Linked DNA regions of Homo sapiens: regions 2, 3, 4, 5, 6 and 7 are each linked to region 1. The links are contacts of gene promoters, found by promoter capture Hi-C in blood cells and fetal thymus (Javierre and others, 2016). All regions are on one chromosome and are shown on one strand. The core of a region is centred on a gene start or on the middle of the fragment in contact, and the rest is flanking DNA. Distances in the headings are between cores, read along the strand shown. Region 1 holds the start of AIPL1 (AIP like 1 HSP90 co-chaperone). Region 2 overlaps DHX33 (DEAH-box helicase 33). Region 3 overlaps DERL2 (derlin 2). Region 4 holds the start of LOC101928044 (zinc finger CCHC domain-containing protein 9-like). Region 5 overlaps NLRP1 (NLR family pyrin domain containing 1). Region 6 overlaps NLRP1 (NLR family pyrin domain containing 1). Region 7 has its middle 19 kb from the start of NLRP1.

The links. Contacts are between HindIII fragments. The CHiCAGO score rates a contact against its expected background, and 5 or more counts as called.
Region 2: a fragment that was not itself captured here is called in contact with the fragment with the promoter of AIPL1 in region 1 in 1 of 17 cell types (M1 macrophages); the score reaches 5.9 in M1 macrophages.
Region 3: a fragment that was not itself captured here is called in contact with the fragment with the promoter of AIPL1 in region 1 in 1 of 17 cell types (M0 macrophages); the score reaches 6.3 in M0 macrophages.
Region 4: a contact is called between a fragment that was not itself captured here and the fragment with the promoter of AIPL1 in region 1, in 1 of 17 cell types (M1 macrophages). The highest score is 5.2, in M1 macrophages.
Region 5: a contact is called between a fragment that was not itself captured here and the fragment with the promoter of AIPL1 in region 1, in 12 of 17 cell types (M1 macrophages, M2 macrophages, total CD8 T cells and 9 more). The highest score is 12.4, in M1 macrophages.
Region 6: a fragment that was not itself captured here is called in contact with the fragment with the promoter of AIPL1 in region 1 in 12 of 17 cell types (total CD8 T cells, activated CD4 T cells, naive B cells and 9 more); the score reaches 11.2 in total CD8 T cells.
Region 7: a fragment that was not itself captured here is called in contact with the fragment with the promoter of AIPL1 in region 1 in 17 of 17 cell types (total CD8 T cells, naive CD4 T cells, naive CD8 T cells and 14 more); the score reaches 19.3 in total CD8 T cells.

The regions. Positions count from the first base shown.
Region 1 is chr17:6,433,871-6,436,858 of GRCh38, reverse strand. It overlaps AIPL1 (AIP like 1 HSP90 co-chaperone), which reads left to right and starts at 1,738. Exons shown (of 6, transcript NM_014336.5): 1 at 1,738-1,850; 2 at 2,761-2,940. The coding sequence starts at 1,755. The HindIII fragment of the contact is 8,305 bases long and covers 1-2,988 here.
Region 2 is chr17:5,451,762-5,454,749 of GRCh38, reverse strand. DHX33 (DEAH-box helicase 33) reads left to right here. Exons shown (of 12, transcript NM_020162.4): 7 at 770-929; 8 at 1,082-1,170. Among named protein-coding and RNA genes, the nearest start is that of C1QBP, 14 kb to the right of the region's middle. The HindIII fragment of the contact is 6,981 bases long and covers 1-2,988 here.
Region 3 is chr17:5,479,620-5,482,607 of GRCh38, reverse strand. It overlaps DERL2 (derlin 2), which reads left to right. Exons shown (of 7, transcript NM_016041.5): 4 at 1,219-1,312; 5 at 2,026-2,221; 6 at 2,464-2,554. Among named protein-coding and RNA genes, the nearest start is that of DERL2, 5.1 kb to the left of the region's middle. The HindIII fragment of the contact is 363 bases long and covers 1,373-1,735 here.
Region 4 is chr17:5,510,424-5,513,411 of GRCh38, reverse strand. It overlaps LOC101928044 (zinc finger CCHC domain-containing protein 9-like), which reads left to right and starts at 686. Exons shown (of 1, transcript XM_047437231.1): 1 at 686-1,460. The coding sequence starts at 785. The coding sequence ends at 1,372. It also overlaps a transcript of NLRP1 not described here. The HindIII fragment of the contact is 2,014 bases long and covers 390-2,403 here.
Region 5 is chr17:5,526,711-5,529,698 of GRCh38, reverse strand. The region is part of intron 12 of NLRP1 (NLR family pyrin domain containing 1); the gene reads left to right. The region is part of intron 1 of LOC124903902 (a long non-coding RNA gene); the gene reads right to left. Among named protein-coding and RNA genes, the nearest start is that of MIS12, 42 kb to the right of the region's middle. The HindIII fragment of the contact is 1,603 bases long and covers 729-2,331 here.
Region 6 is chr17:5,561,440-5,564,427 of GRCh38, reverse strand. The region is part of intron 3 of NLRP1 (NLR family pyrin domain containing 1); the gene reads left to right. Among named protein-coding and RNA genes, the nearest start is that of NLRP1, 22 kb to the left of the region's middle. RefSeq lists an enhancer at 2,328-2,829. The HindIII fragment of the contact is 5,112 bases long and covers 1-2,988 here.
Region 7 is chr17:5,601,748-5,604,735 of GRCh38, reverse strand. No RefSeq gene overlaps it. Among named protein-coding and RNA genes, the nearest start is that of NLRP1, 19 kb to the right of the region's middle. The HindIII fragment of the contact is 1,223 bases long and covers 844-2,066 here.

The sequences.
Region 1 (2,988 bases), core at 489-2,988:
TGACACAGTCTCACTCTGTGCCCCAGGCTGGAGTGCAGCAGCATGATCTTGGTGCACAGCAACCTTCATCTCCTGGATTCAAGCGATTCTCCTGCCTCAACCTCCTGAGTAGCTGGGATTACAGGTGCCCACCACCACATCCGACTAAGTTTTGTAATTTTAGTAGAGATGGGGATTCATCATGTTGGCCAGGCTGGTCTCTAACTCCTGATCTGAGGTGATCCACCTGCCTTGGCTCCCAAAGTCCTAGGATTACAGCCATGAGCCACTGCACCCAGCCTAGTCTAGCATTTTTTGTTTTGTTTTGTTTTTTTGAGACAGAGTCTCGCTGTGTTGCTCAGGCTGGAGTGCAGTGGCACGATCTCAGCTCACTGCAACCTCCGCCTCCCGGGTTCAAGCGAGGCTCCTGCCTCAGCCTCCTGAGTAGCTGGGATTACAGGTGCGCACCACCATGCCTGGGTAATTTTTGTATTTTTAGTACAGACTACTAAAAATACAAAACTCCTGACCTCAGGTGATCCACCTACTTCAGCCTCCTTAGTCCCGTGTTTTTATCTCTCCCTGTAGCAGAGTCCTGCACCCCTTCCCTCTGCAACCGGTGAGCCTGGTGTCAGGAAGAGAATGGTTTCGTGGAGCTGAGTCCAGTGCCCTCAGGGTGCGGAGGTGTAGGAGCTTGAACTGGCCACACGGTGGTGCCAAACACCAGGTCTTCGCATTTATGTTTCCCAGCCCTTCTGGGCGTCCCTGATGCCCTCAATAAACTCTGCCTGGTTCCCAGGGCACAGGGCTAAGGGCCTCCAAAGGGGAGGGGAGGGGAGGGGAGGGGAGGGGATACCCACCCTTCCCCCAGCCAGACCTTGCAGGGGAGGCAGGAGCGGGGCTGCGGAGGGCGCCTCAACTTTACCCAAACCCACCCCGCCTTTCGTTCTCCGTCTTCCTTCTCTCCCAAGCCAGAAACCTGTCCCCTCTTGCCTTGGGCCACCATCGCAGGGCCTCCTGAAGGCAGATTCTGGGGAGGGGAGGGGGAACAGGGAAAGCAGAAAGGTGGCTGGATGGCAAAGGGCAGCTGTCACCCCGGCTGGCCTGGGGTCCTCGGGGACTTAGAGTCTGGGCCCAGCCCATGCCTCCCCTCCTTTTCCCCTTCAGTGGCCTCCAGGCCTCTCTCCACATCGCCAGGCTGGAGTGCAGTGGCGCTATCTTGGCTCACTGCAACCTCCGCCTCCCGGGTTCAAGCGATTCTCCTGCTTCAGCCTCCCGAGTAGCTGGAACTACAGGCGCCCGCCACCACCCCCGGCTAATTTTTGTATTTTTAGTAGAGATGGGGTTTCACCATATTAGCCAGGATGGTCTCGATCTCTTGACCTTGTGATCTGCCCGCCTCGGCCTCCCAAAGTGCTGGGATTACAGGCGTGAGTCACCGCGCCTGGTCCCCTGTCTTCTTTAAGAAAGCTCAGCGGACCTTTTTCCTTCTTGGGGTGGAACAAAAAGCCAAATCTAGCACAACCCTGGGCAGGGGCCCAGAATCACTGGAAGCAAAGGTGGATGGGATAGGAGGCGAGGCTGCCTGTGGACCACAGGCCCGGCCCGAGTGGCTCTGATGAGAAGCCGGGGCGCCTAGGTCACCGCCCCCACCGTCTGCCCTTCCCCCCACTCCTCCTGGCTGGGTAAATCCCAGAGTCTCAGCCGCCTAAGTGTCTTCCCCGGAGGTGAGATTATCTCCGCCTGTGCTGGACACCTCCCTTTCTCCTGCAGCCATGGATGCCGCTCTGCTCCTGAACGTGGAAGGGGTCAAGAAAACCATTCTGCACGGGGGCACGGGCGAGCTCCCAAACTTCATCACCGGATCCCGAGTGAGTGGGGCCCCTCCGGAGCAGACAGGGTCCCCCACAGCAGCTTTCAACATTCCAGGTGTGCCCCAAGGCACTGTAAACAGCTTTCAGCTGTGCCAAAAAAACAGCCAGGCAGCCCCAGCGCTGGGCCTCCGGGGAGCTCCCAGCGTTTACCCATTCAGGGGGCATTTTTGGTACTTTGCAGATTCAACTTTAGCATGGGCTGAGGGGAAGGGCTTTTGGGAATTTTCTGGGGCCCTAAATGTTGAGTGAGAAGAAAGGGAGTCCGAGGAGTCTTGGTATTTGTCCCCAAATGTCTGTTAGGCTTCCCTGGACTGAAGGGTGCGTCTGTGGCTACAGAATTCGGGCTTTGGCCAGGCGAGGCGGCTCCCGCCTGTAATCCCAGCACTTTGGGAGGCCAAGATGGGCAGATCATGAGGTCAAGAGTTCGAGACCAGCCTGACCAACATGTGAAACCCCATCTCTACTGAAAATACAAAAATTAGCCAGATGTGCTGGGCGCCTGTAATCCCAGTTCAGATACTCAGGAGACTGAGGCAGGAGAATCACTTGAGCCCAGGAGGTGGAGGTTGCAGTGAGCCGAGATCATACCACTGCACTCCAACCTGGGCAACAGAGTGAGACTCTGTCTCAGAAAAAAAAAAAAAAAAAAGAACTCGGGCTTACTTGAGGAAGGATTTCTGGACGCACAGGGCTGTGGGGAGTGGAATGGGGTCTGTAGGGAGGGGTGGGTCCCTCCTCCCTGGGGGGTGCAGGCAGGGTGGAGGTGCTCCAGGGGTCTGAGGCATCTGATGGGGTGAACTGAGTGAGCTGACCCTGGGGACAGCCCTGGGTGTCGGTGGCAAGGGGGTGGCTTCTGCCGGGCCTTGAACAGTGTGTCTAGAGCAGAGTGCACCGTCTCGGTGACTAGGTGATCTTTCATTTCCGCACCATGAAATGTGATGAGGAGCGGACAGTCATTGACGACAGTCGGCAGGTGGGCCAGCCCATGCACATCATCATCGGAAACATGTTCAAGCTCGAGGTCTGGGAGATCCTGCTTACCTCCATGCGGGTGCACGAGGTGGCCGAGTTCTGGTGCGACACCATCGTAAGTAGGCCCTGCGCGCCTGTCTCCTGGGACTAGTCTTTTCTGGGC
Region 2 (2,988 bases), core at 249-2,748, 980 kb after region 1:
AGCACTGGCTTCTCCTAAGAAGGTGCAGTGAGAAGCTAACTTAAGGTCATCTTGACTCATGTCTGTTTTATACTTTGCTTTATTCCACAGAGGATTTGAGACCACTGAAATTATTGCTCCCAATTATTGAACTGAAATGCTCTAGTAAACATTTGAGGGTCCTGGCTTCCACAGGTGTATCTTTTTGTGATGACGTAGGTGAAAGAGCTTGGGTCTCCAGTGCCAGGCTAATGATACACCTTTATCAAGAAAATGAACCTCATTTACTGCTAGAAAACAGACATCACATTATTTCTGTCTTACAGCAGAACTGGGAGGGAGGATAAAGCACACAAGTGATTTGAGGCATTTAATTTCGTAGTCATTGATTGATAGTATGACCCCCATCCTAGTTTGCTGAAACTCCCAGTTTTAGCACCCAAAATCCGACATCCCAGGAAACCCTCTGTCCCAAGCAAACTGGAGGGGTTGGCCATCCTACCATCTAAGGCAAGACCTCGGAAACTACTCTTCTCGCCCCTTGCTGCATGCGTGAGGTTTTTCTGATGTTTTTGTAACAGATTTCACAGTGGGCTTATGGCAAAGCCTTGTTTCACTAGGGCCAAACCGCTGCGGAGCAGTCTGGTTTTGTGCTGTCCATTGTGCTAGCCTTGAGGCTTTCTGGACCCCCGTGTTGCTGAAAGAACCACTGGTGTGCTTCTTTTTATCGACACTGTAGAAAGAGTTTGTTCATGTGATGAAGCACTAATGGGGCTCACTCTCCATCCAGACAGTGGTCTTGAGGTGTTAGCAGTGCAGCGGGTATCGAAGACGCAGGCTTGGCAGCGCACAGGGAGGGCTGGCAGAGAGGACAGTGGCATCTGCTACCGGCTCTACACGGAGGACGAGTTTGAGAAGTTTGATAAGATGACCGTGCCAGAGATCCAGAGGTAGGCACCAGTTGCTCCTGCACTGCTGCTGTTTGTCACCATGTCTCTCCTGCTTGCCCAGAGCTGCAGTTTTTACTCACACTCCACCATGAGGGGTTCTGACTCAATGGCAGAGGGATCAGGTCATGACCCTGGTCTCATGCTCTTCACAGGTGTAACCTGGCCAGTGTGATGCTTCAGCTTCTAGCAATGAAAGTCCCAAATGTGCTCACCTTTGACTTCATGTCGAAGCCATCTCCAGGTAAGTGAAATCCACAGTTTTGCAGAAGGTGGGTGAGGAGACAAACAACAACAAATGGACACTTCCAAAAAAATAAAGTATATTGGTCATCTCCTTTTGTTTATTTAATTTTGTGGATGACAACATTAGTTATTAGAGAAGCATCTGAAAATCATGAAATGATAGATAGATACATTGATTGACTTTTAAAGAGACAGGGTCTCACTGTGTGGCCCAGGTGGAGGTGCAGTGACTATTCACAGGCTCCATCACAGCCTCCAACTCCTGGGCTCCAGCGATCCCCCCGCCTCAGCCTCCCAAGTAGCTGGGACCACAGGCATGCGCCAGTGTTCCTAGCTATGAAACGATAGATTCTGTACTATCAGCACCATCAATAAAGTTCCTTGACCTCTGGAACCAGTGAAGGTCATCATGCGAGTCCTTGGGATACTACAGAAATGTAATGAAATTGTACTTTTATCAGCACAGGGACTGCAAAGATCACATTTCTTTGCCTTTAACTGGAATTTGATCCATCTCTCCTGTTCATTAGTAATTTCTCTACAGAAGAAGAAAATAATTGGAAATATTTATGATATTGGCTTTGGCACCTGGCCTCTCATCAACGCACCATTTTCCTTTTCTTTTTATTGCCCCCCCTTTTCTTAAGAAATGCAATTGGTTTAAAAAAGAAGGAAAGAAAACACAAAGTCACCAGTTGATGGGTATACAAGGGTCCTGCCCTGATCCTCAGGTTCACAGTTTCCTTCCCCTAGAACAACCACTGGAACCATTTTCTAGTAGACTTCTAGAGCAAATGTATGCATATATGAGTATATGTAGTGTGTTTGATTTTATTTATGTATTTATTTATTTATTTTTGAGACAGGGTCTCACTCTGGTTGTCCAGGCTGGAGTGCAGTGGCACATTCTCAGCACACTGCAGCCTCAACCTCCCGGGCTCAGGTGATTCTCCCACATCAGCTTCCCAAGTAGCTGGGACTACAGGTGTGAGCCACCAAGCCCCTGCTGTAGTATGTTTTTGTTTTTGTTTTTGTTTTGAGACAGGGTCTCACTCTGTTGCCCAGGCTGGAGTGCAGTGGTGCGATCCCAGCTCACTGCAACCTCCACCTGCCGGGTTCAGGTGATTCTCCTGCCTCAGCCTCCCGAGTAGCTAGGACTACAGGTGTGCACCACCATGCCCGGCTAATTTTTGTATTTTTTAGTATAGATGGAGTTTCACTATGTTGACCAGGCTGGTCTTGAACTCCTGACCTAGGTGGTCCGCCCACCTCGGTCTCCCAAAGTGCTGGGATTACAGGCGTGAGCCACCACGCCCAGCCTGTAGTATGTTTTAAAACACAAATAGCAACACACATTGAGTATTGTTCTGTGCTTGATTTTTTTTCTTTCATTGCTAAATTCTTACATACAAATGAAGAAGATACATAAGGTGTAAGGAATGGTTAAAATCTAACACCTGTGTACCCAATTGAAGCCCCCAGGAGTCCCCCCCACCCACTTGCCCTCGCCTCCTTCCACTCTTTTGGGGTACCCACTCTTCCATATTTTGTTTGTAATTGCCTTGCTTTTCTTCACTGTTTTACTATATGCGTATGTATCCCTAAACCACCTGTTGTTTGTAAGTTTATGTTAGTTATTCTTGAGTAAGCGGTTTTCATTCAGCTTGTTCCGTATAGTATATTTGTGCTGATGCTTTTTCACACTAAGTGCTATTCCATTCTGTGAATAAACCAAAATGCATTTATCCATCCTTCAGTTGATAAATATTGCTTTAAAAAAGCAATGAGAAACACACTGCTTTTTTTCATTTAATAC
Region 3 (2,988 bases), core at 305-2,804, 950 kb after region 1:
TAAAAAGATAGCACTTCTGCTCTTTTGTTACTTACAAATCTGATCAAGGGAGGGGAGAATTGATTTAACTGAGGCATACCTCCACAGTAACCAACAGGTTCGAAGCCGTAAAACAACCTGAATGCAATGGTAATTCAGCAGAATTTGGGCATAAGTTTTGGAATGGGTTCATGAGGAGTGGGAACCTGAGATCTCCTTGGGTCCTGGTTGCTGGAACTACTGGCTGAAAGACAGTGGTTGTGTCTGCTGGGCTTGTCAAGTTCCGGTTTGTTGAAAGGAAAACCCCAGCTCTGATCCAATGGTAATTGGGGCCACAGAGCAGGGCATTCCTCTTCCACCCCTGCCCTCTGTATTAAGAGGGAGTTACAGTTCAACTCATCTGCAGCTGCATTCCTTCCTGAGGATGGCAGGAATCCATTTTATATCCTATGTAGGATATCATTCTGATAAGTTTCCATTAAAGTTTTTTCTCATCGTAATTCATCTTTATTGACTGAGGTGCTCAACCTGCCAGGCTGGAAAAGTAGTTGAGCACACAAGGCTTCTTGCTGCGGATTTCTTCCAAGTTAGGATGTGGGAAAGCAAAGATGGTGCATATTAAGGTGTGGCTGAGCACAGGAAAGACAATACAAATTTTTAAAGGTTTAATAGGGGACTGGAGGGCCGGGTGTGGTGGCTCACACCTGTAATCCCAGCACTTGGGGAGGCCAAGGCAGTGGATCACGAGGTCAGGAGTTTGAGACCAGCCTGGCCAACATGGTGAAACCTGCTCTCTACTAAAAATACAAAAAATAGCCTGGCATGGTGGCACACAACTGTAATCCCAGCTACTCAGGAGAATGAGGCAGGAGAATCGCTTGAATCTGAGAGGCGGAGCTTGCAGTGAGCCGATATGGCACCATTGCACTCCATCCTAGGTGACAGAGCGAGACTCTGTCTCAAAAGAAAAAAAAAAAAGAATAGGGGACTGAAAGCATGTCTGTGTGTCATCTGGATTAGTTCCCAGCCAGGGACAGTTTGTAAAAAATGATGCTGGTCTTGACCTTTTCTCAAATGCTTGGTAAAAAAGTAATCACATTACCACTCAAACATTCTTATACAAATGAAGACTTGACTAATTACAAATAATATGGAATCCAAGTGTACTTACAAGATAACATTAAATTTTTACTTTGTTCATATTCGTGTGCTTAATATTTTCTTAACTTGGAACTTAAGATATCGTTACTGTCGAATGCTAGAAGAAGGCTCTTTCCGAGGTCGGACAGCAGACTTTGTATTTATGTTCCTTTTTGGTGGATTCTTAATGACCGTATCCTTCAACAAACAACACGGGAAAATGTTGAAGAACACCCTGGCTCTTCCTAAAGCTTGTCATCTGTCTCCCACAGTTCTCTAGATCTTAGCTTCAGGGCACTATCATTTATTTTACAGCACATTTTCTGTGACAAGTTTCCAAACCTAGCAGTCGGACAGGATGAGCAAGTCAAAGGAACTTTTAACCCAGGTGGGTTACTGTTAAGCAACTCAGTTATATCATTACTGCTTGGCGTACTTCACTTTTAAACTAAGTTGGTAAGACATTTACTTGGTGGCTACCAAAACCAATAAATTATTTTTTCAGAAAAAGAATTTTCATCTATACAATAGACTTAGATATGGTACGGTCTGACAAGATGGTTTTGTTCCAGCTAGCTTTATTCATCTCTGTAAAGGTGCTAATCGTGAGCAAGCTTTAATATAATTATTGACTGAAGAATTAACACATTTTCCAAAGAGGCAAGAACTTCACGAAAGCAGAGTATTTGTTTGAAGTAGCTGTAAATCTCGATAATTTAGCCTAAGCAGATTTTTGCCTGATTGCTCTGGGTAATTATTTTCTGGGTGTTTCTCCTTCTATTCTAAAGATGTAACAACTTGACTTTTCCAATTCAAACTTCTGTTAGAACACAATCTTTAGTTCTCCTGCTCAGTCTTTCCTATTAAACTTTTAATGTTGATATTTTCCTTAATGCCATCTGCTAGCTTTTTGGTCTGTTTGTGAGCTTAGTTTTCTTGGGCCAGGCCTTTACAATAATGCTCGTCTATGTGTGGAGCCGAAGGAACCCCTATGTCCGCATGAACTTCTTCGGCCTTCTCAACTTCCAGGCCCCCTTTCTGCCCTGGGTGCTCATGGGATTTTCCTTGTTGTTGGGGAACTCAATCATTGTGGACCTTTTGGGTAAGGCTCTTCTCACTATTTTTTAAATTATTTTACCTGTAAAAGTATTTTGTTACTATTTTTCATGTTTATTCTGTTTGGCCTTCACGTATTACCTATTGTAAAATACCACAATATTAGTTCATTAATTTTTAATAATTATGTTGACATTCATCCTAAATATAGGCAATTTGTGTTGGTAGGTCTACCTGCAATCTAAATTTTAATTCTCTCCCTCATCCTTTATTTCTGCTTGACTCTAGGTATTGCAGTTGGACACATATATTTTTTCTTGGAAGATGTATTTCCCAATCAACCTGGTGGAATAAGAATTCTGAAAACACCATCTATTTTGTGAGTATTTAACACCAGGTTACATACTCTTACAGGCAAACCAGGACAGGGGCATGATCTGTGTTTTCTTTGGCTCCCCTAGCTCCTAGTACACATAGCTCAGGTCAGTAACCATTTGCAGATTGAGCATTCTGGCTACAGTTGAAGAGCACTTGGACTGGGTAGGAGCAGACAGTGCCAGGGTTGTGGCAAGACCAACGTCAACAGGCTCAAGATATCTTGGGAGTAACCTGGTAATTGTTAGAGATGACCACTAGAACTTCTATTCTGGTAGGAGCCTGCTGGTTTTATGAAAGCTGCTGTCCACGTTTAGTGAAGTAAGGTAGCAAAATGGGCAAAACTGATGAAAGTTTCTGATGGTGGACTTTGTGGCCTGCCAAGCAGGTGGTTGAGATAAGCAGTGAAGCAGAGTGGAAATAGCTTTGGACTGGAAA
Region 4 (2,988 bases), core at 147-2,646, 920 kb after region 1:
AGTTTTAAAGAAGAGATCAAAGCCAAGCATGGTGGCTCATGCATGTAATCTTAACACTTTGGGAGGCCAAGGCAGGAGGATCACTTGAGCTCAGGCTTTTGAGACTAGCCCGGGCAACATAGACTTTGTCTCTTTAAAAAAATAAGAAAGAAAAAAATAAGAGATCAGATGCCATTTGGAATCTAAGTGAATAGGCTGGAAAACTAGTCTTCTGTTGTCTGAAATACAAAGCCAAACAGATTTTTAATAAGAGAGATTTTTATGAGAACAGAAGAAAAAAAGGTTAATGCTGGACACAGTCTATCCAGGTATTAGACTCAAAAGCATCTTTAGTTATAAAGCAGGAAAGTGGTGGCAATCTGACACGCCTGTATCACAAGGTATAAGCTTTAGCTTGCAGGGCCTCAGGAGAAAGCTAGTAGTAATTTTACTGTATGCAGATCTCTAAGCTGGGGGTGACACAGGAGGTGGGCAGGACTGGCTTCACAAGATGCAGGTCACAAAGACTCCACTGATAAGATGCGGTAAAGAAGCTGGCCAAAGCCCACCAAAGCCAAGATGGCAATGAAAGGGACTCCTGGTTGTCCTCACTGCTCATTATATGCTAATTTTCACCCTCCTGTAGGACCAGCTCCAGCAGTTGTGGGACCCAGTGCAAAATGGAAACACAGGGCCCCTCGTTCAAAAATGATAAGAATGTCAAGACGGTGACAACAGAACATGAAATCAAGCGCCAGGCCCTGCTGAGCTCAGGGCTCTGTGTGACCGCACAGGTCACACACCCATGAGACTGGCCTTGTCTTTCGGGTCCTTCACGCCCCACCCACCCATCTCCTTTACCACATGCAGACCTCCACTCTCCACACAACCCTTCCTCCAAGAGGACAGTCAATGGGAAGTAAGAAGATTTAAAAGACAAGGGGCAAAGAAAAATGCAATGGTGTGTTTCCATTGTAGAAAACCTGGTCGTGGAATTGCGGATTGCCCTGCCGCCCTTGAAAATCAAGATATGGGCACTAGAAGATGTTACAAGTGTGGGTCCACAGATCACGAAATAACCAAGTGTAAGGCTAAAGTAGACCCGCCTCTTGGCGAATGTCCTTTTGCAGAATGTTTTGTCTGTGGAGAAATGGGGCACCTGTCTAGATCTTGTCCTGATAATCCCAAAGGACTCTATGCTGATGGTAGTGGTTGCCAACTTCATGGCTCTGTGGAACATTTAAAGAAAGATTGCCCTGAAAGTGAGAATTCAGATCGAATGGCCACAGTTGGTCTGTGGGCAAAGGGAATAAGTGCAGACTATGAAGACATTGTGGATGCACCAAAACCACAAAAACCCAAAACAAAAATACCTAAAGGTGTTAATTTTTGATAACAACTAGTACTGTCATTAGTTACCACCTCATTGTTACTTTCTAAACCAGGCCCACTTCACAAGTTACAGCTGGGCTCCCTTGTAGCCAGGACTATACTGTAAATATCAGTATGATCTGGGTGTGGTCAAAAACAATTTTCAACAGAGAGAAAGAAGAAAGAAGAGAGAGAAAGAAAAAGGAAGAGAAAGAGGAAGAGGAAGGAATGAAGAAAAAGAGGAAGGAAGGAAGGAAAGAGAGAAAGGAAAGAGAAAGAAAGAAGAAAGAGAAAGAGAAAGAAAAAGAAAAGAGAAAGGGAGGGAGGGAAAGAAGGAAGGACCTACGCGAGGAGGGGCTCCGCCAACCCTCTAAGCCCCGCAACCCCCGCATGCCCCGCCTCCTTCTGCAGACCTCCCCGTCCCTCATCCCAGCAAGTCCTCACGTTAGTTGCCGGAAGCCTAGGAAATGTATTCCTAAATCTGGAGTCGTCTCCATGGCAGCGAGCCCCGAAGTGGAGCCAGTCTTGGAGTAGGAGAAAGGCCAGACACAAACAAGTGTGTGGGGATGGGGGAGACACACATGCATGTCCGCTTTGGATCCAGATTCTCTTTTTTTTTTTTAGACGGAGGCTCGCTCTGTCGCCCAGGCTGGAGTGCAGTGGCGCAATCTCAGCTCACTGCACTCACTGCAACCTCCACCTCCCGGGTTCAAACGATTCTCCTGCCTCAGCCTCCCGAGTAGCTGGGATTACAGGCGCCCACCACCACACCCGGATAAATTTTTGTATTTTTAGTAGAGACGGGGTTTCACCATGTTGGCCAGGCTGGTCTCGAACTCCTGGCATCAAGTGATCCGCCCGCCTCGGCCTCCTAAAGTGCTGGGATTACAAGTGTGAGCCACCGTGCCCGGCCTGGATCTGGATTCTAATAGCAACAGCTAGAATTCTGAGGGACAGGCAGTGAGCTGGGAATCAAATTCTTGGCTCTACCACCCATTAGATGTGTGATCTTGAAACAGGTTTTCAGATGTGTAAGAAGGGAATAGCAAAGCTTGCGTCAAACGGTTGTTTGACTAGGTGAGCTCATGAGTGGGAAGTTGTTCTGGGCGAGCTGGTACACAACACTAGGCAGACAGTAAATCTTAGCTTCTTTGAGCCTGAGGCTGTTGTAGGTGCCAGTGATAACAGAGGCCAGAGTATCTATTCTCAAGCAATTTATATTCTAGTGGCAAGGAGATACGAAATACGCACCCATGTCTGTAATCCCAGCACTTTGAGAGGCGAAGGCCTGAAGATCTATTGAGACCAGGAGTTTGAGACCAGGAGTTCAAGACCAGCCTGGGCAACATAGCAAGACCCCGTCTCTTAAAAAAAAAAATTTTTTTTCATTTTTTTGGCCAGATGCAGTGGCTCATGCCTGTAATCCTAGCACTTTGGGATGTCAAGGCGGACGGATCACCTGAGGTTAAGAGTTTAAGAGTTCAAGACCAGCCTGGCCAACATGGTGAAACTCTGTCTCTACAAAAATACAAAAATTAGCTGGGCATGATGGCAGGTGCCTGTAACCCCAGCTACTCGGGAGGCTGAGGCAGCAGAATTGCTTGTACGTGGGAGGCACAGGTTGCAGTGAGCCGAGAT
Region 5 (2,988 bases), core at 281-2,780, 910 kb after region 1:
AAACTAAATTGACTAAAAAAAATGAAAAAACAAGGCCGGGCGCAGTGGCTCACGCCTGTGATCCCAGGACTTTGGGAGGCCGAGGAGGGCGGATCACGAGGTCAGGAGATTGCGACCATCCTGGCTAACACAGTGAAACCCCGTCTCTACTAAAAATACAAAAATTAGCCGGGCGTGGCGGCAGGCGCCTGTAGTCCCAGCTACTCGGAAGGCTGAGGCAGGAGAATGGCGTGAACCCAGGAGGTGGAGCTTGCAGTGAGCCAAGATCGCACCACTGCACTCCAGCCTGGGCCACAGAGCGAGACTCTGTCTCAAAAAAAAAAAAAAAAGAATAAACAATCAAGTAACTTGTAGGATACCATGATAAGTCCTAATATATATCTAAATGGAATTCCAGAAAGATAAGATAGAAGGGAAAAAAATAGAATATTCAACAAGACAATTGCAAACAAATTTCTGGAAGTATTGAGACATATGAGACTTCTCAGAATGAGAATCCCCAAAACTGCAATGCAGGAAAGAGAGAGAGAAGGGAGAGAAAAAATCAAGATTAGTCTCATTAATGTGAAACTACAGAATAAGAAAGTATGAGGGAAAGCCTTGACATCAGCCAGAAAGAAAGGGTTATAGGTGTGAGCCACTGTGCCCAGCCAATGTCTGTCAATTTAGTGAGCAAGTTAGAAGAATCTGATGTGTCCCCATGTCAAATCATGACTCCAATAGAAGCTTCATTTAATTGCTGATAAAATGATTTGATAAACAATTTATGTTATAGCTTACATCAGTTATAAGCACTTTTATGATTTGTACAGTTTAGCTAGATATTAAATGGGTTTTTAATATTTTTTCTTGTCTTAATTTCTTTATTTCCCAGGAATAGAGGTAAATGAGAATTTATTTTTAATTTCTCATTTGTTAGTTGATATGTTGTAGTATCATCCCAGTAGTTCAATGTATTTTTAGTATCACCTCAAAATAAAGGTATTAACTTTACAGTATGCATATATTAAGGTAATCAAGGCATATATATAAGAAAAATTATTTAGAAGCTAGTAGAAAGAGAAAAATCAAATGAGAAAAATAAAAAGCAGGGAACTGCTCAGTACCCAGAACCAGGAAAGTCTTGTTTGTTGAGGCCACAAAAGTTCAGTAAACAATTCAAGCTGCACACCAGGAGGAGAGCATGGGGCAGGGAAATAGAGTCCCGGGGGCCTCAGGATCCCTGGGGCACCTGGTTGAACAGTCAGGGTCATATGGGCATTCCCTAGGGAAGGTCCCAGACTAAAACAGAATAGAGGGAAGAGGTGCAAGACAGCTCTGGAATTGTAGAGGTCCATTTAGAAAGGAAGAGATTGAGGAGAGGAAACTGATGGCTGAAACAAGAAGCTGGGACAAGTTACTTGTTCCCACCGGGCAATCTATAGAGTAATGAACACAGCCACTACCACAACCAGCCTGCCTCTTCCACAAGTGAGACCGTGGCCAGGGATCCCCAGGTACTCTATCAAGAAGAGAGGGGCCTGGCTAATAGAGTCAGTGGGCTCAGCTCTGTCGTAGCTCTGCCCATGACCAGCAGCAAAAGAACTTGGCTTGCCCCAACCTGGGATGCTCAGGGCTGCACCACCACTCCCTGCTCTAACCAGGGTATTCCAGGAGAAACCTCATGCAGCTAAGGTCTGGAGCCAGAATGTACCACCAGGGCCCGAGGGGACAAAGTCTGCCTTCAGGTCCTGCTCCAGCGCCCCCTCATTCCCCACTCTCAGAGGTGGATGAGCTGGCCCTCCCCATTGTGAGGACTCCCAGGCCATGCCCTGCTCAGTCTCCTGCGTGCATCAAGTGGGCCTGGGAGACGGGATTTGTCCAAGGAATTGGGTGACCCTCCGAGTGCACAGGCATCTAGCTGAAGCCTGCCAGGCTGACAGCCAAATCAGAATAGGAATGAATTCACTGTGCTTGTGGCACTGTCCTTTGTGGCACTGGAACTTGGCCAATAAGAACTGTGAACAATAACTGAGCATCCTGTGCCTGGAACCATGCAAGGTAGTTCCGTATATATTAATATCATCTCTTTTTTCATAATGAACCGGGAAATTAGGCACTACAGTTTTCCCTTGGTGTACCAGTGAGGAAACTGAAGCCGAGAGAGGTGAAGACCCTCTTCCAGAGTTGGGATTCTATCCCAAGTCCTGTTTATCCCAGGCTAAGAGCTACACCCCTACCCCTCCCCAGTCCTGCCCAAGCCCATGTCCCACTAGCCTTCTCTAGACCAAATTCTGAGCCTCACCTTGTGGCCAGATAGGATTTACTCCCTTTGGACTCCGTACACAAGCTTGTACAACCTGCGGCCTGTGGGCCACATGCGGCCCAGGATGGCTTTCGATGAAGCCCAACGTGAATTCGTAAACTTTCTTAAAACATTATGAGACTTTCTTGCGAATTTTTTAAAGCTCACCAGCTATCATTAGTGTTAGTATATTTTACATGTGTGGCCCAAGACAATTCTTCTTCTTCCAATGTGACCCAGGGAAGCCAAAAGATTGGACACCCCTGCCACAGAACAAGAGGCAAAATGCACAGAGGCTGCTTTTAGCTAGCTGTGACCAGCCAGGAAACCAATCCCTGGGGCCGGGCAGGGCCCCTTCCAGAAATGCTTGCTGCCTGCTGTCTGGGCTGCAGCTGTTCATTGCCCTGGAAACGATGACCTCACTGCCTGACACAGGGTCTGATTTAGGACTTGGGCACTGGTGCTTCATCACTGTCGTCGCTGAACGGGTGATGAGTCATTAACTTTCCATGGTGAGTTTTCTCCCACTATAGCTAGAGCTTGAGGCTTTCAGCCTCTCAGCTTCATCACCGTGGCAATGGGCATTCTCACCCTCCTGCAGGACCAGCTCCAGCAGTCATAGGGCCCAGCACAAAATGAAAGCGCGGAGCTCTTCATTCAAAAATGATTAAGAATGTCAAGACCACCAAACATGAAACCAAGCA
Region 6 (2,988 bases), core at 261-2,760, 870 kb after region 1:
GATCTAAAACTCAAATCAATTGAACTCATGGACATAGAGAGCAGAAGGATGGTTACCAGAAGCTGAGAAAAGTAGTGGGGGGCAAGAGGGAAAGGTGGGGATAGTTAGTGGGTACAAAAAAATAGAAAGAATGAATAAGACCCACTGTTTGATAGCACAATAGGGTGACTATAGTCAATAATAAATTAATTGTATACTTTTTAATAACAAAGAATATAGTTGGATTGTTTGTAACTCAAAGGTTAAATGTTTGAGGAGCTGCATACCCCATTCTCCATGATGTGCTTATTTTACAGTGCTTACTTGTATCAAACCATCTCATGGATCCCCATAAATACATACACCTACTACATATCCACAAAATTTTTAAAAAATAATTTTAAAATTTTAAAAAAGAAAAGAAATTATTGGCTGGAATTTCTTTTCTTTAAGGATGCTGAATATAGGCCCCCAATCTCTTCTGCCTTGCAGGGCTTCTGCTGAAAAGTTCACTGTTAGCCTGATGAGGTTCCCTTTTTAGGTGACCTGCCCCTTCTGTGTCTAGCTGCCTTTATTGTTTTTTCTTTCATGTTGGCCTTGGAGAATCTGAGGACTTGGGGAATCTGAGAACTATGTGTTTTAGGGATGATTGTCTTGTATAGTATCTCACAAGGATTCTTTGCATTTCCTGAATTTAAATGTTGGCTTCTCTAGGGAGGTTGGGGAAACTTTTGTGGACAATATCTTCAAATACGTTTTCCAAGTTGCTGGCTTTCTCATGCTCTTTCAGGGATGCCAGCGAGTCATAGATTTGGTCTCTTTCCAAAATCCCATATTCCTCAGAGGTGTTGTTCATTTGTTTTCATTCTTTTTTATTTTTGTCTGACTGAGTTAATTTGGAGAACCAGTCTTCAGGCTCTGAGATTCTTTCCTCAGCTTGGTCTATCCTGTTGTTAATACTTGCTATTGTATTATGAAATTCTTGTAGTGAGATTTCCAGCTCTATCAGATCAGTTTGGTTCTTTCCTAAAATGACCATTTCGTCTTTCAGCTCCTGTATCATTTTATCATATTCCTTAGATTGCTTGGACTGGATTTTGACTTTCTCCTGAATCTCAATGATCTTCATTCCTACTCATATTCTGAATTCTATGTCTGTCATTTCAGCCATTTCAGCCTGTTAAAATACCATTGCTGAGGCACTAGTGCACACATCTGGAGATAGGAAGACACTGTGGCTTTTTGAGTTACCAGAGCTCTTGAGCTGGTTCTTTCTCGTGTGTGTGGGCTGATGTTCCTTTAATCTTTGAAGTTGTCTTCCTTTGGATGGGGTTTTTTTTGTTTTGTTTTTATCTTGTTTGAAGCCCTTGGGGGTTTGATTGTCGTATAAGGTGGGTTCAGTCAACTGGCTTCGATTCTGGAAGATTTCAGGTGGCCAAGGCTCAGCTCAGCACTCCTGAGCTGCCTGCTCTAACTCTAGAAGGCTGGTACTGGGTCCCCAGCCTTTTCCTCTGGCCTCCTGGGGTTCAGAACCTGCTGCATTAGAGGGGCCAAGGTGTTCCCAGTCCGCTGGCCTCAACAGTCCAGTGGGGGTGCAGGCCAAAGTGCTTCCTTGTGGCAGTGCCAGCAGGATCTGTGCTCACTCACACATGGCACCAGCCACAGTGGCATGGCAGGGTGCGTGTGTGTTGGCTGGGGCAGGGCACTGGTGGGAGCCTTTGCCTTAGTTTTCATGGCACTGAATACTGCAAAACATTTTGGTGTTGTATTTTGGGGCCGCCATCCAGTAGGCAGTGCTTAAGAGTGATCACCAGGAGATACACTCTTACTCTGCTGCGTGGTTCTTCATGTTTCAGTACAGTTGGCAGTAGTGTTCTGTGTGTGTTGGGGACAGGGGGGTGACCTTCTCACTTAGTCCACTCCTGGGCCTTAGACAAGACCCTTCTGATTACTGGCTCCACACCTGCATTTCTTTTGTTGGGTGTTCTGGTAAACGGGGTTCCTTCAGGCAGGGGCCGTGGTTGGCAGACAGGCCGTATCCTTGCTGGGTCCGCCCTGCAGAGAGAGGCATACCTCCTCCACCTCACTCCTCCACCAGCCTACAAACTCGGACATCTCACCTCTGTCAGTGATAAGAGAATGAGGGCTCTTCCCTGCTTGGGCATTGTCCAAACCAGCAAGTCCTGCTCAGCTAGGATCTGCAGAAGTGGGTGGGGTCACGTAATCAGCTGTCTGGGTGCTTCCCAGAGGAACAGGGGATGGCACCCACCCACAGAGTAGCGGGACTGCTGGGCTGGAAGCTCTAGCAGGTGTGGCCCATCTGGCTACCACAGGCAGAGGTGGTTGGAGTCACCCACCCTGCCATCTGGGTGTTTCCCTGGGCAGTAACAGGAGGCTGCACCCCTCAGCCGGATTCAGACAGAATTAGGACCACTGCGCTGGAAGCTCTAGCAGACATGGCCTGCATGGCTAGGAGAGGCGGTGGTGGGTGGAGTCACCCACCCTGCCTTCAGAGTGTTTCTCGGGGAACCGGGAGTTTGCCTCTGCTGGCTGAGTTCAGACAGAAGCAGACTGCTAGCAGACATTGCCCGCCTGGCTACCAGTGGCAGGGATGGGCAGAGTCACCCCCTCTGCTGTCCAAGTGGGGAACCTGAACAAAATAATATCCCAAAGAACAGTTTCATGGCAAGTATAAAAACCACATGGGGCCGGGCGCGGTGGCTCACGCCTGTAATCCCAGCACTTTGGGAGGCCGAGGCGGGTGGATCATGAGGTCAGGAGATCGAGACCATCCTGGCTAACAAGGTGAAACCCCGTCTCTACTAAAAATACAAAAAATTAGCCGGGCGCGGTGGCGGGCGCCTGTAGTCCCAGCTACTCGGGAGGCTGAGGCAGGAGAATGGCGTGAACCCGGGAAGCGGAGCTTGCAGTGAGCTGAGATTGCGCCACTGCAGTCCGCAGTCCGGCCTGGGCGACAGAGCGAGACTCCGTCTCAAAAAAAAAAAAAAA
Region 7 (2,988 bases), core at 206-2,705, 830 kb after region 1:
AGGTTTTCTCCTATTTGCAGCCAAAGTCATCCCAATTGCTGTATCTCCTATCATAAAATGAAGAATGTCTCTTAAATGAATACACTTCCCACAATAACTTCACTCTGCAAGCGCTTCCCCCAACCTACCTGGTGACAAATTGAGGGCCCTAGTCAAGGAATGAGCACCTCACTCCCTCTGAGATAATGGATCTCTTCCCTGGGAATTTTTAAAATGTGTGTCCCAGAAGGTCAGTCTCTTTGGTGATTAAAGCTATAAGAAGTAAACCTCAGAACTGCATTGTGTCCTGCCACATGAAGAAAGTGATTCATTATGGAAACGGCAAATGAAACAAACATGTCCAAGAAGCAAGATATGGACAGAGAAAAGGACAGAGACACACATACAGTGAAAGACCTGTTGGCGTTAAAATCCCTGGTTCCAATAGTTCTTGAGACCCAGTTGCTTCCCTGACTGTCCCATAGCTTGACTAATCTACCCTTCCTAGGATACTCGAAGCCAACAAATTATCCTTCTCTTGCTTAAGTGTTTTTGAGGTTGGACCATTCTGTAATTTTCAGTCTGAAGTGATCTTTAAAATGTGCTCTACACTCCATCCCTTGATATCATCCTTGATGAACTCAGCATCCAAGATGATATCACTCTTGACATCCTGCTCTTACAGTTCTCCAGCCTCCTTAACTCCAGCAACATTCTCCTCTATATCACTGCCCCCAGGCCAGGGACCCTGCCATAACTCTGAACTCTTCCACCTCCAATGTCTCAGACAGAGCTGTGATGTCATACTCAATGCACAGATCTAGAGTCAGAAGCTCTTAAAGCTCTTGAAGGATGATTGAAGCTTAGAAATCAAACCTGCCTATTTTCGGCCAGGCATGGTGGCTCACGCCTATAATCCCAGCACTTCGGGAGGCCAAGGCGGGTGGATCACCTGAGGTCAGGAATTTGAGACCAACCTGGCCAACATAGTGAAACCCCATCTCTACTAAAAATACAAAAATTAGCCAGGCATGGTGGCGTGCACCTGTAGTCCCAGCTACTCTGGAGGCTGAGGCGGGAGAATCACTTGAACCTGGGAGGAGGAGGTTGCAGTGAGCTGAGATCGCACAACTGTACTCCAGCGTGGGCGATAGAGTGAGACTCATCTCCCTACAAATTCTGGACCAAGTGCTGCTCTTAGTGACACCCTGAGATCCCTTGAACCCATGCCCTACAGTCTTGTCCTCTATAGACAAAGACCTTGTCCTTTGACCTGTCTCTAATTCTCAGACCACTGAGCTCTGAGGGAAATTATGTGCCAGAGCTTCTCAGTCATTCAGTCCACAAACATTGATTGAGCACCAATGATATGGAGTTCACTGGTTGATTAGAGATCAAATCCAGCCCCTGCTTTTGCCAAGCTCTCAGTTTTATGGGGGATCCATACTATATATCACACATATTATACTGTGTGAATGCTATAAACAAATAGCATTCACACAGTGTATTAAGTCCTATGTTTTAAATGAGAGTATTATAATAGCCCAGTGGGGAAGTAGCCACTAGAGAAAGTGCCCTACAGTTGGTTAACTTCTGAGTTCAATTTTGAAGAACTAGTAAGAATTTGGGCTGGACACAGTGGCTCACGCCTATAATTCCAGCACTTCTGGGAGGCCAAGGCAGGCAGATCACCGGAGGTAAGGAGTTCAAGACCAGCCTGGCCAATATGGTGAAACCCCGTCTCTACTAAAAAATACAAAAATTAGCCAGGTGTGGTGGCGGGTGCCAGTAATCCCAGTCAGGAGGCTGAGGCAGGAGAATCACTTGAACCCAGGAGGTGGAGGTTGCAGTGAGCTGAGATCGTGCCACTGCACTGCAGCCTGGGCAACAGAGGGTCTCAAAAAAAAAATTTGGAGGCATAGGATACTGCAAGCAGAAAGTAAATGCAAAGTGACTAGAGTATTCATTCATAATTCAACAAATATTTATTGTGAACCTACTAAGTGGTAGGCATTATTACAAACACAGAGGATTCAGTGACTCAAACTCTACCTATTCCTGCTTTTTCCCAGACAAAACCCTAAGCTTCCCCTCACCAATGGGTATGAAAGACCGTGGCATATGTGGAGGACTATTTAATACCCTGGTCACCTGTGAATCTTCTCCCTCACACCAGCCACCAACTGCCATTGATTCATAGACCTTTATATTGGTAACACCTCCACTGTATCCATATTCAGTGGCATCTTGTTAATTTCAGTCAAGTGTGCCAAACTATCCACATTTTTTAAAATACCGAATAGCCATTCAGTGTGTTTATTATCACTTCCAGGTTTGCATTACCTGCAGTCAGTAAAGCATCTTCCTCAGCATCTTGATCATAAGATCAAGTATTATTCTGTGATGATAATACTCACAGAAGTATTAGACACATTGTGCTTGAAATTAAATTATCATCGCATGCCAGACACGTGGTGCTGACCAAGAAGGGTTGTCTCCTCACTGACATCAAATGATCCCCTCATTCGACAACCCAAATTTTGACTATGTGCTTGACACTGTTCTAGTGACAGATAGGTAGACATAACTAACTATGCTCTTGAAGTATTTTGTATCTAGACAGACTTAACAGAGAAGGCAGCTAGTAACCCTGACAAGAGAAGGCAGGAAATATTTCCGAAAAAAAAAAAAAGAGGTGGGGACATTTAGGCTAGCTCTTGGCAGATGCATAGGAGTATGCAGGGTGGCTAAGAAGAGAGGAACATCCAAGGAGAGAAAACAGTGTGTGCAAACGTGATGTTTCAGGAATCTGAGTGCCTGGGTGAGGCTGCAGCTTGGGGCATATGGGGATTGGAAATGTGGGCAGGTACCAGATGCTAAGAAGCCCCATGTCTAATTAATTCTTTAAATCCATGTCATCCTCCATCAAGTCCACAAAGACATCTTGAGAAGCCACTCAGTTTTGTTGTGGAGCTGAGTGTGCCTGAAGTTCCAAGTAGCACCACTTCT